Linked DNA regions of Homo sapiens: region 2 is linked to region 1. The links are contacts of gene promoters, found by promoter capture Hi-C in human tissues and cell types (Jung and others, 2019). All regions are on one chromosome and are shown on one strand. The core of a region is centred on a gene start or on the middle of the fragment in contact, and the rest is flanking DNA. Distances in the headings are between cores, read along the strand shown. Region 1 holds the start of TNFRSF10D (TNF receptor superfamily member 10d). Region 2 overlaps ENTPD4 (ectonucleoside triphosphate diphosphohydrolase 4).

What was found. Contacts are between HindIII fragments. The study calls those that stand out against the background at their distance.
Region 2: a contact is called between a fragment that was not itself captured here and the fragment with the promoter of TNFRSF10D in region 1, in 3 of the 25 tissues and cell types used here (IMR-90 fibroblasts, adrenal gland and spleen).

Annotation. Positions count from the first base shown.
Region 1 is chr8:23,161,756-23,165,625 of GRCh38, forward strand. TNFRSF10D (TNF receptor superfamily member 10d) reads right to left here and starts at 2,272. Exons shown (of 9, transcript NM_003840.5): 1 at 2,031-2,272. The coding sequence starts at 2,180. RefSeq lists an enhancer at 2,010-2,129. The HindIII fragment of the contact is 7,003 bases long and covers 163-3,870 here.
Region 2 is chr8:23,426,145-23,429,996 of GRCh38, forward strand. ENTPD4 (ectonucleoside triphosphate diphosphohydrolase 4) reads right to left here. Exons shown (of 13, transcript NM_004901.5): 13 at 3,018-3,852. Among named protein-coding and RNA genes, the nearest start is that of LOXL2, 24 kb to the left of the region's middle. The HindIII fragment of the contact is 3,070 bases long and covers 166-3,235 here.

The DNA.
Region 1 (3,870 bases), core at 1,022-3,521:
AGGGATACAGGCACATGTGTGAACTAGGTGTGAGTGTAAGCTGAGTTCAATGGTCTTTTGGAAGAAAATTCGTAAACATCTAAAGAAACTTCTGAAATGATTTATCCCACGGAAGTAGAAGTAAAATTCTACTTCTAAGGAGTTGCCCAATAAGCTGGTGCGCATGGACATGTGGACACACGATACATACAAGGGTATTTAGTACAATGCTGTTGGAATTAGCAAAGGCAAATTTGCTTTGGGTTATATCCCATCGGGATGGGATATAACCAGCTGCCTCTAGATGGCAACAGTGAATTAACCTGTGGCTTACCCATGTAGTAAAATACAATACCCTTGTTTAAAAGAAAATCAATCTGAATGTACTGCCATAAAACATCTAATGTGATTTGTGCTAGCTCCAAAATTTTAAAAAGCAACTGTGCATTGAAATGCATTTAATAAGGCAAGATTGATGGAGGGATCAAAGCCTCCTTTGGGACGCATAGAGTTCACATTCCCAAAACTGTGAAATTCAGGTTGCTGGTCTTGTCTACACAGGTCATCCACACATTCTCTCTTCAGGGCCACTGTCCTGACACAGCCATTCTTCTAGCTGCCTCAGGTAGGTCCACCCACTATAAACTATTGTAGAAGTCAGTTGTGTAATTTTTGAGAGGTGAAAATGTCACTGCTGTTCTGAATTTAGTATTACTTCGTTGAAAGAAAACATGGAGACTCTCATGGTTCATGTAATCTTGTTTTATCCTCCCCGTTTTGTTTTTTGGTATTACGTAAGAAACCTTAGAAAGCACTGTTGGCAGAAACGTCAGTCACTCAGAAAAAGTCCTGGCAGTCTGCACATCTTATTTTTATGTCCTTCTTGTGCACCCCACTACCAATCTCAGTTTCCAAACCCAACTCACAACGAGAACTTTACATCTTTTATGCCTAAGGAAGGGGCCATCCCGCGGTCCTGCCTATGGGATACAGAGGGGACACACGGGTGGCAGTGGAAGACACTGACTGCAAGCACCTTGGTTAACCGCTTCCTGCCACTTTCAGGGTTCTATAGGAAATGAAAGTTACAAAAAACAGCGTTGGAAAGCTTTTTCACAGGCTGTTTGTTAAACTGATCTCCAAGAAACACGTGTAACAGTGTAAACATAGGGTTAATTTTGTTTGTTTGTTTGTCTGTTTTTGTTAAGGCAGAGTCTCGCTCTGTCGCCCAGGCTGGAGTGCAGTGGTGCAATCTCGGCTCACTGCAACCTCTGCCTCCCGGGTTCAAGCAGTTCTCCTGCCTCAGCCTCCTGAGTAGCTGGGACTACAGGCGCAGGCTGCCACGCCTGGCTAACTTTTTTTTTTTTTTTTTTTTTTTTTTTGAGACGGAGTCTCGCTCTTGTTGACCAGGCTGGAGTGCGATGGCGCGATCTCGGCTCACTGCAACCTCCGCCTCCCGGATTCAAGTGATTCTCCTTCTGCCTCAGCCTCCCGAGTAGCTGGGATTACAGGCGACCGCCATCACGTCCGGCTAATTTTTGTATTTTTAGTAGAGACGGGGTTTCACCATGGTGGCTAGGCTGGTCTCCAACTCCTGACCTCAGGTGATCCGCCCGCCTCGGCCTCCCAACGTGCTGGGATTACAGGCGTGAGCCACCGCGACCGGCCTGGGTTAACGTTATGAACGAACGAACGAACGAACGAACGAAAGAGGCAACCGCTCTGTGGCTTCCTGAGGTTCACTCCGGGGTTTCCATCTTGACTCCCTCCCTCCGCTGATTCTGGAACTTCCTCTGGGGCAGCTCAGTGCGGTCCTCGCCGCACGGGACAGCCAGGGGGAGCGCGCGCTCTGCTCCCTCGCGGCCCGGTCGCTCCTGCCCAGCCCGGGCACCCCACTCTTCCCCTGACTCCGACGGCGGGTTCGTCCTGCCCAGACATGCCCGGCCGCAGGCGACCCGGGCCAAGCATCCCCACCGTGTCCCCCTCTCTCCCTGCCCACTCCCGGCGCCAGGTGCGCTCTTCCCCAGCCAGGGACCGCGGCGGAGACTCACCGGCAGCAGAACCGCGACGATGAAGACGACGAACTTAAGGATCTTGGGGTCCAGGAGCCATGGTCTGGTTCCCGACGCTGTCCTGGCTCCTGGATAGCGCCCTGCTCGAGCGCTCGAGGCGGTCGGGACGCTTTGTCCCCAAAGTCCCATGAGAAGGGAGGAGGGTGGATCGAAAGCGCCAAAAATCAATCAGAAATCGTCCCCGTAGTTTGTGCGCGTGCAAAGGTTCTCGCAGCTACACTGCCAGAATAGAACGTGCTCCTCCGCTTTTATACCCCGGAAAAAAGGCGTGGTCAGTTGTACTCCCTTCCCGCAGTCACTTCCAGGCACTCAGGCTGGGTCTCCCCCAGCACCTCCAGGAGGGCCCAGGTTGTGTGGGTGGGTGCATGGACGGACAGGAACTGGCTCTTTCCGGCAGCGGTGACCCAGGGCCTGCGGTTTGATTCCGGGTCCTGTCCAGGCTGTAGGCAGCAGAAGGGGAAGGAGCTGAGGCGCTGCCCGCTGCGCTGCTGTAGTCTGGGTAGTGAGCTCCAGAGGAGGCACTGGAGGCCCATCCTGAGCCTGCTCCCTCCCCGGGCCGCCTGTCTCTCCTCTTCTTAAACCCTGAACTACTTCCTGGCCTCAGGACTTCAGTCCACTCTTAGCTTCTGCTCCCACTCCCTCCTCCCACAGCGGCCTCACTGACCAGTGCACTGATGCCACTGATGTCTCCAGCCTCCTTGCTGCTGTGACCCAGCTCCAAGCTTCTCTGGCAGGGGCTTGGTATCCCTCAGTAGCGGGTGCCTGGCACCAAGGAGGGGCCCAGTGAACACATGAGTGGACAGAATGAAGGACACAGAGGCCATGACAGGCACCTGCAGAGGCTGAGGAGTAGGTAGGAGGGAGAGGAACGCCGGGGGCATCCCTAGCCACAACCTGGCACCCTTTGCATGGTCAAAGCACAAACACTCCCTGACCAACCTTGAGGGCTCTAGTATTGAGGCCCCATGGAGACAGGGGAATCAGGGGAGTGCCTTCCAAAGTCTGTCCCCAAGTCTATTGTCTACCCAGGTCCAACTGTCTGACCTTGGGCTACTTACCTCCCCATCCAGTTGAACACACTGCCGCTGTGAGGGCAGACCCAATGTGTGGTTTTGAAGGGTGCCAGCTTGTGACCCTAAGCAGTAAGGTCAATGGCAGGACTCCTAGACCCTTGGGATGAGTCGGCTCCTGACCCCTCACATGGTAGATAGAAGAGGATAGCGCTATAGAAATGAAGGTTTTTTGGCTCATGAGAAACCTGGGAATGAAATGTCATCCTCTCCACAGGCTTGGATTTGAGCGATGGATCACCCTGAGCACCTTCCAGGGCCCAGACAATGACCTAGGGTCAGAAATGTGAGCCAGGGCCGGGCGCGGTTGCTCACGCTTGTAGTCCCAGCACTTTGAGAGGCTGAGGTGGGCGAATCAAGAGGTCAGGAGTTCGAGACCAGCCTGGCCAACATAGTTAAACCCCATCTCTACTAAAAATACAAAAATTAGCTGGGCGTGGTGGCGGGCACTTGTAATCCCAGCTACTCAGGAAGCTGAGGCAGGAGAATTGCTTGAACCCAGGAAATGGAGGTTGCAGTGAGCCGAGATTCGTGCCACTGCACTCCAGTCTGGGTGACAGAGCGAGACTCTGTGAAAAAAAAAAAAAAGAAAAAAAAATGTGTGCCAGGTCCCAGGCACTGAGCTAGGGTCAGAAATGTGCGCCAGGTTTCAGGCACTGAGCTAGACTCAGAAATGTGTGTCAGGCCCCAGGCACTGAGCTAGGGTCAGAAATGTGTGTCAGGCCCCAGGCACTGAGCTAGGGTCAGAA
Region 2 (3,852 bases), core at 451-2,950, 260 kb after region 1:
TGATTCTCCTGCCTCAGCCTCCTGAGTAGCTGGGACTACAGGCGCCCGCCACCTTGCCCAGCTAATTTTTGTATTTTTAGTAGAGACAGGGTTTCACTATGTTGGCCAGGCTGGTCTCAAACTCCTGACCTCGTGATCCGCCTGCCTTGGCCTCTCAAAGTGCTGGGATTACAGGCGTAAGCCACTGCACCCGGCCTAGAATAGATTTTAAAAGATTTCTTTCATAAATTTTAGAAACCTAAAGAGGTGATTTGTGAAAGAAACCAGATTTTCATTAGTTTACAAATATTTACAAAATACTATGTACTACTCGGTGTCTTCTTTACTGGATTATAAATGTAGAAACATGGAAAGTAAACACAGGACCTGTCATGGTCCATGTTCAAGGACATTTGGGCCAGAAATAGATACACTGATGGAAAACAGGGCCACGGGAGGTGGGAGAGAATTTAAACGTGTAATTTGAACATTAAACAGCCAGGAACTTCCAGAAAATTCTCTTGTGCTGCCATGACCAGTATCAAAGAACTTTACAAGGCTGAGGAGAGCCCACCAAATGTTTTAAGTGTTTTGAGTCTAAAATCTGGGTATTAAAGCTTGGGCCAAGTGGGAGAAAAAGCAATCTTAGGAAAAGAAAGTGCTAAGTCTGGTCCCTGGAGTTTAAGGCTTGTGTAATGACAGGCAAGAATAAGGTGATTAGGCCCGGTGCGGTGACTCACGCCTGTAATCCTAGCACTTTGGGAGGCCGAGGCAGGTGGATCACGAGGTCAGGAGATCGAGACCATCCTGGCTAACACGGTGAAACCCCGTCTCTATTAAAAATACAAAAAATTAGCTGGGTGTGGTGGCAGGCGCCTGTAGTCCCAGCTACTAGGGAGGCTGAGGCAGGAGAATGGCGTGAACCCGGGAGGCGGAGCTTGCAGTGAGCCGAGATCGCGCCACTGCACTCCAGCCTGGGCGACAGAGTGAGACTCCGTCTCAAAAAAAAAAAAAAAAAAAAAAAAAGATGATTAATATTTTCAGAACTGTCCACTTCAAACTCTGATTCTCATGAAGGCAAAAAGGGTGAAAGGTAGTATTCACACTCCCAATTAGAAGCCTGAGAGAACAGCAAGAACAGCTGGCACAAGGATGTTGTAGAAATAACACAAGAGAAGACCCACACTGGGGATTCTAAAGCTGCTCCTTTGTGTTTCGATGGCGTTGCCACCGACAAACCTTTCCCCTTCCAGTCACACAGGGGCCACTGGAATCCCAATCCCTTGACAAAACACCAGATGCCTGAGATGTTTATTTGATGACTGGTTGAACGGGAGGAAAAAAACTCCTTTTCTCTCGTCTTTGGAGTTCACCTACTTAAACAAGAAGTCTGTCTTTTGTGCCTGTCACCATCGTGTTCTGTGAGGAGGTTTCAGTCCTTTACTCAAGGCAGAAATCCTTCTTAAGCCTTGATTTTCTTGTTTGGGCCTCTTACATGAAACAGACACAGGCTGTTGACAGAAATGTTGAAGTGGCCATGAAGTCTGGAGCCCGGATGTCGTTCACCTGCCAAACAGTGTCAAGGGTGAAAGGCAAAGATCGAAGGCCAAAGTGCCCCTAGCGTCCCCTGCAGCAGGTCTCAGTCAACCTTAATAGATCTATTAATAGAAAGAGGCTGGACTGCGCAAGGGCAGGGGGACTAGCCTGGCTAAAAGCAAAATAAAACACATCAACAGACACACTCTTCTTTTGTTAGGAGGAGGTGGGATCACAGGCCCACATGCTCCCAGACGAGGTGGGGCCAGGAAGACTCTCACAGGATTGCCTTTCATGCTGCCACGGATGGATGCTCCAGGCAGATCCACTCTGCCAAGGCGTGCTTTGGGATTAGCCGGGCACTCCTTTGTCTTTTCATGACGTTTCCAAAAGAAGACACTGTGACTCTGACAGAGGTGACCTGCACCTCACGACCCCCTCTGTGCAAACCATTAGCATTTCCGGATCTCAAAAAAACCAAAAAAACCCACAGGGCACATGCCAATTCATAGGACAAATGGAAACAGACTGAAAACAAAAACACAGAACCATGGCTTTTCAGACCTGTCAACATGGTTAGTGTTGGAAATAGGCACTGACTTCTCTTCCACCAAGTGGAATAAAAATTTAGATGTCTTTTAACATCTTAGATATTTTAACGTATTTAAAGTCAGGCAAAAAGCCCTATAGTCATTGCACTGCCTCAAAAATTATTTACGACAGTTCTATCTTAATGCTGTGTCCTGTTTTCCTAGCGATCAATGGCTTGAGGACCTCCCTTGAGCTCACTTTGCTGGCTCTGTTCTCTCATTTTGTTTTTGCGCTTCCCTCTCCTCTCCGGCATGTCTCAGGCCTTTATTTTTGTTGGTCCTAACAGCTGGTCCCCTTCCCTTCCCATCTGTCTCTATCATCTATTTTCAGGTTATGGCTCAGGCCCACCTTCCTGCTCCAGGAGAACATCTATGTATTCTCCAACGGCTGAGAAACATGCTGAGCGTCTAATGTCATCCTCCATATTGGTAACACGTAACATTAATAATGACAGTCATAATTTTCTGGAAGTAAGCCAAAGGTTCTAAGCTTAGATCGAACTGCAAAACAGTGTAACATAAAGTCAGCATTTGCTGTTACTATTAAATACATAAAAATTGGTTAATTTTATTACTTTTCCTTGTCTATATACAAGTAGGTACTTAAAATGGTGACCTTATAAACAGTCATCTCAGAGTGGCAATTATTGTTGGTGAATGGCTTAACGTCGTGGGTTGGTCACTACTTGTGAAATATCTGCTTTCTGAGCTGCAGAGAGTGTGGACGCCCTCTCCACAACCCCACACAATTGTGCTTCACTGTATGCACACCCAACACAACACATGCAAAGAGTGTGCGTCAGACTCAGACAATGTATTTCACTGAATTTGGACTCAAGTTCAACTCATCATTCTAATGAGTAAGAAGATTCAAAGATGACAAGGAAGCAAGCCCACACAGTCTACGGGCCATGGGATGATGAACTTTCGTTTTATTGATTTTTCAGTACCCAAGTGTGGCACTGTAAGGCTGCCACATACAGCAAGTGACATGACACCAAAAGGACCTTCCGAGAGTATTATTCTTACTTTGGATGGAAGACATCGCTTAAACAAAAAACATTTAAAGATGCTCCCTTGCTTTTTATAATTCCTAACTGTAAAATATAATTTTAGTACAGAACAAACAAATTCTCCTTGGTTGGTCACATCATTCATTATTGAAAGGGAAACTTAGTATCAAAAGAAACAAAACACTGAAATAAATAACTAAGTAATTTACTGAAAGGTAGTTTTGTTGCATTGCACACAACTGACCGCAGAGAATTCTAAAGCTGATTTTTTTCTTAAAGGATGAAAAACTCATTTGCCATTTTTAGTTTCTTGCTAAGTGATACATGCTCCTTATAAGGAAAACTACTCTGTGTAGGCCTGAGTTTAAAATGTAAATATCTGTTTATCCAGAGTTTGTTAATCTAGAGTACACAGATGTGGAAAACTGGTGGTGAAAAGAGGGACCTACCCAGCCTTCAGGGTGGCTGGGCAGGGGCCCCATGTTACTGGCCTCAGCCACCAGCAGCGTCTTCACTCCGCCCAGGTCAGAAAGCACTGCCTAAAGCCGGAGCTTAGGATGAACATGGGCAAAAAGCACTGGTACAGTTCCATGTGTTTCTCTTCTACTGTAATGTCCCCAGAGGGATTGTGAAATGTCTGAGAACATCCCCTGGAGGAGGTTTAAAAGTGAGAAGCCCATGATATGGCTATGGAACATAAGCACTTATTGCTGGCATGTTTCTACCAAGATTGA